3 separate regions of the Homo sapiens genome follow, and regions 2 and 3 are each linked to region 1. Evidence: promoter capture Hi-C in human tissues and cell types (Jung and others, 2019). All regions are on one chromosome and are shown on one strand. The core of a region is centred on a gene start or on the middle of the fragment in contact, and the rest is flanking DNA. Distances in the headings are between cores, read along the strand shown.

Evidence for each region. Contacts are between HindIII fragments. The study calls those that stand out against the background at their distance.
Region 2: a fragment that was not itself captured here is called in contact with the fragment with the promoter of PREX2 in region 1 in 1 of the 25 tissues and cell types used here (heart left ventricle).
Region 3: a fragment that was not itself captured here is called in contact with the fragment with the promoter of PREX2 in region 1 in 1 of the 25 tissues and cell types used here (H1 embryonic stem cells).

Annotation. Positions count from the first base shown.
Region 1 is chr8:67,949,934-67,954,230 of GRCh38, forward strand. It overlaps PREX2 (phosphatidylinositol-3,4,5-trisphosphate dependent Rac exchange factor 2), which reads left to right and starts at 2,113. Exons shown (of 40, transcript NM_024870.4): 1 at 2,113-2,602. The coding sequence starts at 2,462. The HindIII fragment of the contact is 2,458 bases long and covers 702-3,159 here.
Region 2 is chr8:67,983,519-67,987,855 of GRCh38, forward strand. All of the region lies in intron 1 of PREX2 (phosphatidylinositol-3,4,5-trisphosphate dependent Rac exchange factor 2), which reads left to right. Among named protein-coding and RNA genes, the nearest start is that of PREX2, 34 kb to the left of the region's middle. The HindIII fragment of the contact is 3,074 bases long and covers 58-3,131 here.
Region 3 is chr8:68,005,916-68,010,447 of GRCh38, forward strand. The region is part of intron 1 of PREX2 (phosphatidylinositol-3,4,5-trisphosphate dependent Rac exchange factor 2); the gene reads left to right. Among named protein-coding and RNA genes, the nearest start is that of PREX2, 56 kb to the left of the region's middle. The HindIII fragment of the contact is 6,929 bases long and covers 1-4,532 here.

The DNA of each region.
Region 1 (4,297 bases), core at 863-3,362:
AAAATGAATATTTTTCTGCTAGCTTCCATCACACCAATTTTTTTTTTTGCAAAGCATTCATTGCATCTTACCTTTTAAACAGTTACATGTCACTTTGACCCTCTTCCTGACTCAACTGTAAGTCTTTAGATGGTGGTTCTCAAACGTTAGTGAGTTTAAGAACAATCTGAGGACCTTGGTAAGAGAATTTAGGGCAGATATCTGTGGGATTCTCATTCAACAAATTTGTGGTGGGGTCCAGCAATGTTCATTTTAACAAGACCTCGGGTGATTGTAATTCAATGGTCTGTGAGCCACCTTGAGAAATATGTGTCTGCAGATCAGGGTCTCTGTGGCTCTTGGGCCTTCGCAGTATGCACTGCTCGTAGAGATCCTCAGTGCATGTTTGTGGAATTGAGGTAAATGATTTGGATGGGTAAAACCCCATTAATGATTCAAACTCAAGTGTCCTGCTTTCAGAGATGAGCTTGCAGCCCTAACGGATTGTCCATAGACTAATTTTTTGATAGAAGGAAGTTGCATAAGCAGTTCTTTACTGGGGACAATTAGTACAAGAGATTCTATTTTATGTAGGAGAACAACTGATAGAAAGTTGCTTTATTTATTTGCTTTTTTCCCTAGGGAAAGGTGCAGACCTGGGGAGGAAGAAATGCTGCCTGTAGTACATGGGGAGAAGGTTCAGTCATGCTTGCATTTCCCATTCATTTCTGGATGTGTGCTTCCTATGTCTTCCGCTTCTTTTGTTTATTGTTTACTAGGTGCTGTGAGGTCTGCTCTTTAATATGCTTTGCCCTTTGTTCTTCTGCCACAGGGTGTGAAGCCATCTATGTTGTTTGCCCTTTGCTCTTGGCTACCTCTAAATAGTCATTTGTAAAAGAAAGAGGAAAATCACATCTTGCCCATCAGCTTTGTGTACATCATTCGAAAATTTTATCTTTAATATACAAAGAAAGTACAATCCTTCTTTGTGTGGTTACAGAGGGGAATGGTCACACTATGCTCTGGAAAGACATCATCTGGAAAACCAATAGGTAATTATTTTAATGTAAATATAGTGAAAAGCATCTTTATGTTTTAGAGTTTTGCTAATGCTTTCAGTGACTGCAACAAATTAACATACCACTTTCTTGCAACAACTCTATTCACTCTTCAGTTTATTTAAATGCCATTAGTTTTAGACTGAAGTTGATCTGTGGAAAATATATGTGTATAATACCAATTCAAAAAAATATATAAATTGTTTTGTTTGTTAAATGTATTGGAAATATTTAAGGCTTAGTTTCCAAGTGAGAAAAGGCAATAAACTTTAACTTTAAAATCAAGAATGTTCTGTGTGTCTATCTTCAAAAATCTAAGATTATTTCCGTTATCTATCTAGCTTTCTATCTTCTGATGAGCATTCAACAACAGCTTTATCTTTTCAATTAGTGACACCGTCTTAAATCACAGCAGCTCTTAGAAACAAAACTGGCACAAATACCCTCGCCTCTCAATGGATTTACATACTATCTTGATGTTGAAAAAAGTTGTAGACATGGAAAACAGCACAGTACAAGGGTGATGCTTATTTTATCTGGGGTTTATTGCATGGGCAGAGGCTGTCATTTTCCCATAGTGTCTTCATTTATTATGCTAATTGACTTTCCAAGCTCAGACTGGAGGGTGTCTGCCCTGTGAACTATTCTCAGTTGGAGGGTTTTAAAAGCAAACCTGTTTTGTGCCTGAATGAAACAAAAAATCAATGTGTTTCTTTTCAAAGAGGGAGGGTCAATACCGTGGTTGTTTTTGTTCCCATCCAGTTATGTAACCGTGGGGACTTGTTTCTTTGCTTTCAGGATTTGTACGAAACACATTAAAGTTAAACAATAGCGGAGGCTTAGGAGTAACCCTCGAGCTGCGCCTTGGAGTGTGTGTCCCTGGGATTGGGAACCTCCTGTGAGTTCCATATCAAGTGCTGCTGTGTGTGTGTGTGTGTGTGTGTGTGCGTGTGTGTGTGTGTGTGCGCGCGCGCGCGTGTGTGTGATTAGCCAGTACGCAGTACTTCCCCAGGGTTGTGTTTCCTTTTTCCTGAGATTTGGCGAAGGGTAAAGGGTCGGAGTCACATGGATACAAAGCTTTTGATTAATGTCCAAGTCACTGCTGTGGCTGCCGAAGCCGCTTCCCCTCCAGCCCCGGCCGTGTGAGGCCAGAGCAGCGGGGCCGGGCGCGCAGGGCCTGGCCGGAGCCCCCACTCCCAGGAGTTTCCTCTGCAGAGCCCCGCGCCCCCCGCGCCGGGATTTCAGCCCGATCCCCTCCTCTCCCTGCGCCCAGCCTCTCCCCAGCATGTAAAGTCTTCTGTCTCTCCTCGGAGTTGGCGGAGGCGGCAACTTTCCATTCTCGCCGCCGGGGGCCGGGCAGCAGCGGGCGCGCGGGTCAGCGCTCAGCACGGCGGGCAGCGCCGCGCTGCGCACCGCCGCCGACCATGAGCGAGGACAGCCGCGGAGACAGCCGCGCCGAGAGCGCCAAGGACCTGGAGAAGCAGCTTCGCCTGCGCGTGTGCGTGCTCAGCGAGCTCCAGAAGACCGAGCGGGACTATGTGGGCACGCTGGAGTTCCTGGTGTCGGTGAGTGTCCCCGGCAGACGCAGGGGGACGTCCGGGCGGCGCGGGGCGCGGGTCCCGGAGTGGCTGCGGGAAGGACGCGCGGCATTGTCTGTGCGGGGACCCGGGACGGGTCGGGGCATCACAGGCGCGGGAATCCACGTGTGGACTCTGCGTTCGCGGGCGCGGTGACCCCCGCGGGGATTTGTTGGTGCCCCGAGACTCACTGAGTTGCGGGGGCCTTGGAGACCTCCAGGTCTGAAAAGTTAGCTCTAGAGAAGAGAGCTCCAGTCCAGGGAATCCCGGCTGCCCTATCTTCCCTCACTTTTCTTTTACCCGCCTCCCCAGTCTGCTCAAGTGCACTGTGTAATTGATTTTCCTTCTTGTTCTTTCCTGGAGACTTTGTTTTAAAGCTTTGGTTTTGTGATTAAAGGTCCAGTCGGCTACATCCAGGTACACTAAGTTAAAAAAAATCCTTGAATGTGCTCGAGCTTGAGTTCGTTACTCAGATAACATGGCAGTGGCCGCTTTAGTTATGGTCTTTGAGACAGAGGATTCTGGTGTAGGGGTACAGAGAGAGCAGCGGGGTGATGATCTCTAGCAGCTGTTGGATATTAAAGCCACATGTGGCGCTCACCCTGTCCTAGTCTTACAATTCCCTCCCCCCCGCCCCCCGCCCCGGCTTAAATCTGTCTTCTGCTCAGTTTCTGGTCCCCTGTTTACATGGCCCATGAGAGTGCTGTAATCAAGCTTCGGGACTTCGTGGAAGTGGGGATGTACTTATATTCCACGTTTCTGCTTGACTCACTGCCATCTGCTTTGAAAACGTCTCATTCATTTTAGGGCCGAAGGGGCAAAACTGAGTGAAAGTAACTGCTGAGATAACACTCAAAAGTTGAATTTTTCCTATTCATTGCTGAAAAGACAAAGAATTTGAGCCTTGGCTTCTTTCCACCCAGATTCCTGGGAGAGCATCATTCAAAGAACCAGGAGCTTTAGTTTTTGTGATCTCATCCAAATCCTTCTCCTTCCAACAACCAATTCCATGCCCCCTTGGTCTGAAGGAAAATATTTCAGGTGCCAAACTTCCTGCTTAGTGTTCTGAAATCTGTCAACTTTCTGCTTATAATCATGACAGATAAAATTCACTTCTTGGCTGTGGCAAGAAGGAAAGAAAAATGTCTCAAGTGATGTAAAATGTACAGGCTGCGTTATGGTTGACTTCTCAAAATCAATATACTTGACTTCCAGGGGCCACATTCTCTGCAAATATACAGGTATTTGAGAATATCCTGGTAACTGGTGGTTTATAGAATTATTATATACTTCCTTGTAACAAAGATTGTCAAAAAAGTATGTTTTTAAGATTTGATTTTTAATAGCTTTAAATTTGGCTTTCATGAAACTTTTTTGGTAACAAAGTTCTTTGTCTTTTGAAGAATCTGAGTCATTTCTTACATAATTACTCTTTCTGAAGATCTGTGAACAAAGTACTGTGCAGAATGCTAATTTGCAGAGACAGTTAATCTAATTATATTAAAAACCAATTTGTTGATCTTTATTTAAAATATCAGTTTTTCTTCTAATCTTAAACCTGATCATTACAACAGAAAACTTACTGTTAGTATATAGAGTTAGGTAAGAAAGTGTGGAAAGTATAAAATAAATTTTCCCCTTTTATAAGGAGAACATCATTTCATGATTTCTTTTTATCTCTTT
Region 2 (4,337 bases), core at 345-2,844, 33 kb after region 1:
GATAGTGAACTTCCTATATAGTTCAGTCACCCACAATGGCCACAGGGCAAGTTCCAAGCAGTTAAGCTGCCCATGAGGGCCTCCAGGATCCCAAATTTCCAGCAGTATCCTCTTCCTGCCCTCTTCCTTCTGCCAGACTTCATGAAATTTTTGCTCCAGAATTGAGTGTTTAGTTTTCTTCATTTATTGACCACTCTTTGATTCTCCATTAGCTATTGTTATTATTGAGTGCTTCCTTAGTAGTGATTAGGGTTGTGAGCTCTTCGTGAGCTCTGGGTCCACATGGCTGGGATCAAAGCTGTGTGATCCTAGAAGTTCTTAATCTCTGTCTCCTTCCATTTTCACATCTGTAAGATGGGGATGATATTGGTCCCAGCATCATAGGGTTGCTGTGAAGATTGAGGTGATACCTGTAAAGAGTGTAGGACAGTGCCTGGCACATAGTAGTGCACATCAATCTAATGCCGTGCTTGGTACTGCTCTGGGAATTTGTATTCTCATGCCTCTGATCCTGCTATTCTCCCTATGTTGAGTGTTCCCCGCATTTCCTCCCCAACTTGAATTTCTGTCCATTCTTTAGAATCGTTCTAAGGTGTCAGCTTCTTAGTAAAGCTTTTCCACATCACCCTTTCCACCTTCAGAAAGAACTGATCACTCCATCTTCTCTTCTACTTCTGAACCTTGAAAATAAATATTTGTGCAGCACACTTTCATGCAAGTATTCATATACACATCCGTGTCCCCTACTGGATCATGAACTCATTAAGAACGAAGAGTATGATTTATTCAACATTGATTTCTTAGAAGCTAGCTCAGTGCCTGGCACATAGTATTCAATAAATAATTGTTGAACTGTGCTTTTTGAATTGAACAGGAAAGCACTTTATCACTTAATGTTTTAGGCATGAAATCCAGAGTATGTTATCGCAGTGTCATGGTGATGTGCATACATACATGCATGTGTATGTATGTGTCTGTGGTTTGATTAGTACATGCCTGATTAAGGAAAATAATTACTGTGAGTTGTTCATTTATTTAACTACTTCTGGTAGTTTATAAGAAAGGAATTTCTTCAACTTCCTAGGTAGAAATGCAAGCCAGGACTTGTGGCAATTCAGTGCCAAAGATCTGTTACTGTTAGCCTGGAAGACTGCAGGTCTGCCGGTTCCAGCTGTGCTTTAATAAACAGGAGCTCAAACACTTCATGATGGGAAGTACAGCTGAGGACTCTCGAATGCACAAGCTGATCATGCTGAATGCTTTTCTGGGTCATGTTCATTTCATAAAAACAGCCAATTCCCAGCCTTCCCAGAAGAGGAAATGCTGAAGGTCCTAGCTGCGATGTGGGGTGAGGAGGAAACCAGGACGGAGAGGGAGAGGGGGCCTCACCACCTCCCCTTTCCTTGGCAAGGAAGCCAGCCCAGGCACCCAGCCCAGTCGCACGGGTCCCTGTTAGGACTTTGGGCTGTGCTTAAGTACACAAGTTTTTTTTTTTTTTCTTGCCTTTTGTAGCGACTACGTTGTTCCAGTGACCAGAGCAACATGACATAGAAGCAGAGAAAACATACCAAGTTCTTGCCAGTTGCTAGGCAGAGAAAAACGCTTTTGGATGTTTGAAGTATGCTTCCTATGTTGATTTCCTAACCATGACTTGTTTTGAAAGCCAAACACAATAGCATCGTGAATACTCATCAGCATTTGGTAGGCTTTGCTGCCAACCTAATTAACAGATTTCAGTTTAGAGGGATGAGAATAAAGGGGATGCTTTTGGTAAAGTAGTAGCTTCGTGGGAAATTTGATTTTTCTCTAAGGATTGTTTCTTATAATTTTTTTGATATAATATAATATTTAATTTCAATGACCATATTTGTCTTAATTTTAACACAAGCAGTTTTTAGATTATACTTAACATTGATGCTAATATAGTTGCAGTGGATTTTACCCAAGTTTTCTTTTTAAAAACCTAATGAAATATGGAAAAGGTAGTTCTCTTTGGTCTAAATGTCAATATTAGAGCTGTGAGTGTGATGATTTACCGTGCACTTAATTTTTCTTATTGTCGGAGATAGGAAAATGATCATTTCTTCTGGGACACCAAGCTCTCATTGTTAAGTAGGGCAGCTGGTGAATCCTGAACTCAGAGGCAGAGACTCCCCAGGAGGGCCGCTGAGTACAGTAGGCTGTAAGGGAACTAAGAAGGATACTCTTCCCTGCATGGCCAAACACAGTTGCAGAGGACAGTTTCAGGGTGATGTTGGGCAGGCCATTGGGCTTGGCTGGTCCTAGGGGCAACTGTTTCCCTGTGGGCGATGGGGCTGCTCCATCCATGCAAGCGACCTGTGTTCCCCACCAGAGCTATCCAGAGTGGTGTCCCTTTAATTCTATTATCAGACCATGTGGTTTCTAGCAGGGAACACAGATCTAATTGAAGCTTTAAGGAAACTTTATGAATAGGAAGCCACACATAGTTGTAGAAAGATCTCAGGCCAGCTGTCACTTGGGAGATGGAAGTTCAAGGTTAATTTCACTTGACTGGCAAAAGCGTTTTGAGAGAAAAGTTGGTTTTCGTAATCTTTCTTTTGGTTGGAGACAGGAAAAATGGGGGAAAAATTAATATGCCTTTCTACTATCTCTTTTGGGATAACCAGGTTATATTGATGAAAATGATTTTATGTACAAGGCACAGTGTGTGTATATAAATTCTTTTAATCTCCACCGTAATCCCAGAGAGTAGGCACTCTTATAGATGGGGAACTCAGGTACAGAGAAATTAGAGAAATTCCCAGAATCACCCAGCTCGGAAGTAGCAGAGCTTGGATTTGAACTGAAGAAGTCTTGTGATGGAGTTCCTGCTCTTGGCCAGTACACTACATTGCCTGGGCATGCCGGGAGCGTAGGGCTGCTCCATCCATGCAGGCATCCTGTCTACAGGCATCCTGTCTGCAGGTGGCTTGACTACAGGTGGCTTGTCTACGTGCAAATGACGTGCTTGCTTGCTACATGTAGACATCTTAGCTGGATTGGCCTCTGAGTCCTCTGTAATACTTTCATGGAGATTTATCTCATTGGGTTTAAGTCATAGATTTACATGTGTATCACTTCTATCATATAGTGAACTTCTAATGGCAGGGGCTTGATTATGAGTTGCTGGCACCCAGCATGGTGCCTTTCTTTCGAGAACCTTATGGAGTTGAAGAACACAGTGCCAACAACCTGGGGCAGAGAGTAACAGTAAGGCCAAGAGCTTCAAGTGATCTCTAGGACTCTTTTTGGCTCTTGTCAGTACTAATAGAGATAATGTCTTGTGTTGCAATTTGGAATTCACGAAAACCAAACTTAAAGATGTTTTAAAAAAGAACATCACTGGCCAGGGATGGTGGCTCACAGCTGTAATCCTAGCACTTCGGGAGACTGAGGTGGGTGGATCATGAGGTCAAGAGATGGAGACCATGGTGAAACCCTGTCTGTACTAAAAATACAAAAAATTAGCCGGGCACGGTGTCAGGTGCCTGTAGTCCCAGCTACTTGGGAAGCTGAGGCAGGAGAATGGTGTGAACCTGGGAGGCGGAGCTTGCAGTGAGCAGAGATCACGCCACTGCACTCCAGCCTGGGCGACAGAGTGAGACTTCATCTCAAAAAAAAAAAAAAAAAAAAAAAAAAGAACACCACTAACTAATTTCTGATGTATTTCTTTGCTCCTTTTTCAAGTCATTGTTTTCATTTTTTTGGAGCTATATAAGGCCAGTCAACTCTTTTTTAAAGTTAAGCTAGCAAGGTATTTGGCTATCAACGCTAAATAAATCAATTCAGAACCACTATTAGCACCATAAAGCTTAATTCTTTTTCTTTGTACTGTCTGGTCACCTTTAGAATAATTCTTATTCCTCTTCAATCGGCTGGATTTCTGCACAGGTCCAGGGGTTGTCTTTCTGTGGGGAGATTGATGTGCACTGGGGCAAAATTTCAGTTACCAAGTGTGTCCAGCATGAAGTTGCAGCTGGCATTGAAAGGCATCCACCATTCCTCTCCAGGTACATTTCAGATTCATCTCCTACCTTGTTCCCCCATGTCCCCATCACGTGCGCTGGACTGATCATCTGTCCTCACACAGATCTGGTAGCTTCTGCCTCTGGATCTGGCCTCAAGTGGTTCCCTTTGCTAGAAGCGCCTTTTCCCCTGCAACCTCGCCTGCCTGCTGAAGCCGTTCTCGGTCTGTAATGCTCACACTCCATCTTCTCTAAGCATCTGTCTAGGATACCCTCCAGTTCCATTTAATATCTTCCTTCTCTGTGCTCTGTAAATTCCCATTTCTAGACTTTCACTTGCTAAGACAAGCC
Region 3 (4,532 bases), core at 1,947-4,446, 57 kb after region 1:
TATTATTCCTTTTTGTCTAATGACAAGAGGTAAAAATATACAGATAATTTCAGGACATATGCATTAGTTTCCCAGTGGGACACTTGCCCTCAGTTGATTTTGGGATATATTGTTGAATATGTGTTTTGAAATTCAATTCCTGCCATTATTCTTTGACCAAAATGTACAATTTTACAGTTGACCTGCAGAGAGCAGCTCATTAGCAGTTTGCTGGTCCCCTAAGCTCCTGTATGTTCAGCCTCCCCAACTGCCCTGGTGCAGCCCTGGCTGAGCTGGAGGGTAAGAGGAGCCTCCTCTTCCCCAGCAGGCATGGTCTGGAATTAGTTTTGCTGTCCTAAATTAGGTATCCTGGGATGAAGGGAGGCACCAGTTTCCCCGCTGAGATGCAGTATAACCTGTCTCAACAGTGTACATCCACTCTATACAATTAGATTCTATCCTCAGTCTTGATTTTTATTCCATTTTTTATTAGGCCTGGGGCTGAAACCTAAATCCCACTGCATTTGGAAGAAGTCAGTTATATCCTATTAGATGCTAACCTTTCTTCACAACCATTTTTATTCCTACTCCACCTCAAGCAGCATCCGTCAGGGTCACCTTTAGACCAGTGATCAGCTACTATATGTCATCTCCCTAGAGTGAATCCTGTCACTGTTGCCTGGAGTCTACTTGCTGAGCCACTTGGGGCCTCCAGACTACACCCCCCAATATTGGACCTAGTTCAGATTTCAATTTACCATGACCTTTTACATATTATGTGCACGTTCAAGCTTTAAGCTCTGCAAATAATTGCCCTAAACCAGATTAATTATCACACCCAGCCTAGGACAGTTTCATTTACATCCCCAAAATGTTGGTTCTTGAGGACCTAAGGTTATTCAGATCCCGTGAAACAAGAAAACTATTGATGTTAGGGGATATTTGGGATTTTGCAGTAGTTGAACAAATATGCATCTTTGTGGTTATGTAACAAAACTCATAGACAAAGCTATATAGACAGACACTATATTTTTTTGATGGTTAATTTTCATAACCCAGGTCAGAAAAAAACTTCTTAAAATATTTTTTAATTATCATAGCTTTTCTTTGTCCTGTGGAAGGAAAGTTTCCTTGTTTATTTGCAGCTAATTTGCCTCATGAATATTCAGCTGTCGATGGAGCTGCAAGCCAATATCCATAGAAATGAACTCATTAGGAGCATTTTGTTGGCAGCTATTTGATTCGTGAAGTATGTAGAAGTATTTATGATATTTCATATTTTATTTTTTCTTGATTTTTGAAACATAAAAGGATTATTGATAATAATTGTTATCCTAGGTTTTCACAGTTGAGCTTATTTAGTTTTTCTCATATTTCTTGAATTTGTAAGAAAATGCTTTCAGATATTTGACCACTTACACAGATTTTTACAAAGTAAATTATAAATAAAAAGTCATGAATGACTTAAAAGCAGTTCAAAAATGTTTTACATATTTATACATATGCAATACTTGTTCCTCCTAGTTGGTTATTGTCATTGATATAGCTTGCTATGTGGGTGATGTAAAATAGAATGGTTCTCCTTTTTGAAGGTCTTCCTTCAGAAGTTTTGCTGTTATTTAATGAAAACAGCATTGAAGAAGTATATTTGGTTATAAGAAATAGAAAAAATAGTAATAACAGCAAACGTAGACATTGACACTCGATGTACCAGTTACTTTTTTTTTATTTTTGAGACGGAGTCTCGCTTTGTCGCCCAGGCTGGAGTGCAGTGGCGCCATCTTGGCTCACTGCAAGCTCCGCCTCCTAGGTTCATACCATTCTCCTGCCTCAGCCTCCTGAGTAGCTGGGACTACAGGTGCCCGCCACCACGCCTGGCTCATTTTTTGTATTTTTAGTAGAGACGGGGTTTCACTGTGTTAGCCAAGATGGTCTCGATCTCCTGACCTCATGATCCGCCCACCTCGGCCTCCCAAAGTGCTGGGATTACAGGCATGAGCCACCGCGCCCGGCCCTCAGTTACTTCACATATATTAATTTGTTTAATGCTTATAGCAAGTCTATAGGAGTAGATACCATATTACTCTTATCTTACAAATATGGAAGCTCTGCCTCAGAGAGGTAAAGTTACTTGTATGGTCACACATCTAGTAGTTGGCAGAGTTGGGTTTCAAATCCAGGCAGAGTGGCTCCAGAAAGCTGTTCACCACTTCATGTTGCTGACTTCTGTCATATTTTGGTAAAGACTAGAAACTGGACTGCCTGTTGTCCCAAAACCTGGCATTCTTTCCCCACTGATTTGAAGTGCCACCTGTTTCAAATAGTAAATTCTAAATACTCAGGATATTTTCTGGACTGTTTCTGTGCCACTGATATATTAATACTTGTCCGTATCAGCCCAGCACTAACCGTTTTAGTTACTTTATACGAATTCCCTTTAGGAATAGAGTATGAGTCAAATGGAAAAGGAAAGGAAACAAATTGCAGACTAAGGAAGGGGTGATATGTTGAATGAAGAGGGTAAAGACAATATTTGGTCATGAGAGAAGGAGAGAATATGGTGAGTCAGAAAGGGCCATAGGATACTGACATGTATTTTAAGTCATGTGTGTTTTAAGGATGATGGTGGACAATTTTAGAAGTCAGTTTTAAAGAAAAGGTAAAGTAAGTGCCTACGTTTCTGAGGTATAAAAGTTGGAGACAAGTTAATATGGTTTGGCTGTGTCCCCACCCAAACCTCATCTTGAATTGTAGCTCACATAATCCCCATGTGTTATGGGAGGGACCTGGTGAGAGGTGATAGAATCATGGGGGCATGTCTTTTCTGTACTGTTTTTGTGATAGTGAATAAATCTCATGAGATCTGATGGTTTTATAAAGGGGAATTCCCCTGCACATGCTGTCTTGCCTGCTGCCATGTAAGATGTGTCTTTGCTTCTCCTTCGCCTTCTGCCATGATTGTGAGCCCTCCCCAGCTGTGTGGAACTGTGAATCCATTAAACCTATTTTTCTTTGTAAATTACCTTTTCTCCGGTATGTCTTTATAGCAGTATGAAAACGGACTGACATGCAAAATAAATGTGTTTAAAGAATAAAACAAGTTCATGTTAATTGAAATAAATATGAAACCAATTTATAAATCTTTCTTTTATACCTCATGGATTGCACAGTGAGTTAGATCAGAGTATGAGATGAAGGAGGGGAGTAGCCGTCGGGCAGCGACAGATCTTCAGGTTGGGATCTTCATTCATTTCTCTGGGTTTTCCAGCACTAAATACGTTTCCTTCTACACTGCTTACATTTCCTTTTCATCGGAACTGCATTCTTGAATAACGACTAAAACAGGAATAGTGTTCTGCACTTTAAATTCGGGAAATGACCAGTTTCCTGTGCCAGAGAAAAATATGTGCTTGAGAATATTATCTATACAATGTACTTTGTACTTCCCACTTACCCTTTTCTTTCATTGTGCTGTGTTGTTCAAGTGATCTGATATCAACGTAAATTCCTGACCAGCACAATATGAAGTATTATTATGTGGGAGACATAATAGTCTACTGGCATCTCTATATAAGTATTTGTATAATATTAAAAATAAGGCAATTTAATAGAGACATTAAGAAAAAAGTTGACAAATATATTCATGTAAGCTTCTGAACTGCATTTAGAAATCCGTTTTATTTCGTGTTTTTCACCAGCTGACACCATGAAACATACTTTTATATGAAATGATACCAGAAAAATGGTGGGATATTTGAAATGTCTTTCTTTGTTGTAATTCTGAACCTCATTAAAAGTTTATTTCCATCTGACATTAAGTTTGTTTACAAATATAATGACTTATGATACATAAATACATTTTAATTTAAATTTTATAAACTAGTCTTATGAATTGTTTTTGTTTAAGTGTTCCATTGGTGCTGTAAAGAGTTGGTAGCACCTAGAAGAAGGCAGCTTCCAAAGGAACAGTCTTCTTTTCTGAACCTGGCTTTTCTGTAGAGGTCTTGTCAGATCAGCCTGTCATTTTACTTCCAGCCTGTGTGCTTCTGGTCCATGCCCTGATCTTGTGACATCTCATTGAAATTAAAGCTGTGGTCTGACCAAACTTCACTTGCATTGTTCCATTTTTATTAATACCTCGTGCTCTAAGTTGTTTCAAGGATTGAGGACATAGACAACAATCCCTATTAGCACCTTAGAGTTTGATCCTCAATAAACTTTTTCTATCTTCTACTCTTTGTGAATCTCCAAATTTCTGCAATGGGTGGAAGATAAATGTATGATTAGAGAGATTGACATGTATACCAAACAACTGGGAGCTAGCCTGGGATCCTGAGCAGAAAAGATCCACTACATTGTGGAAGATCCAATAGTTAAAAAATAAACAGAATTTTTGCCTCGATACCTTGAATTATAATACTTGTTCTGATATCAAGGACTTCTCCAGAAAGTAGAGTCTGTTGGATTGATTTACTGTTAATATAGGAGCAGAGAGGAGGAGAAAGGGCCCTTAACTTACCCTTTAGTTCTGTTCTCTCTAGTGTTAATAATAA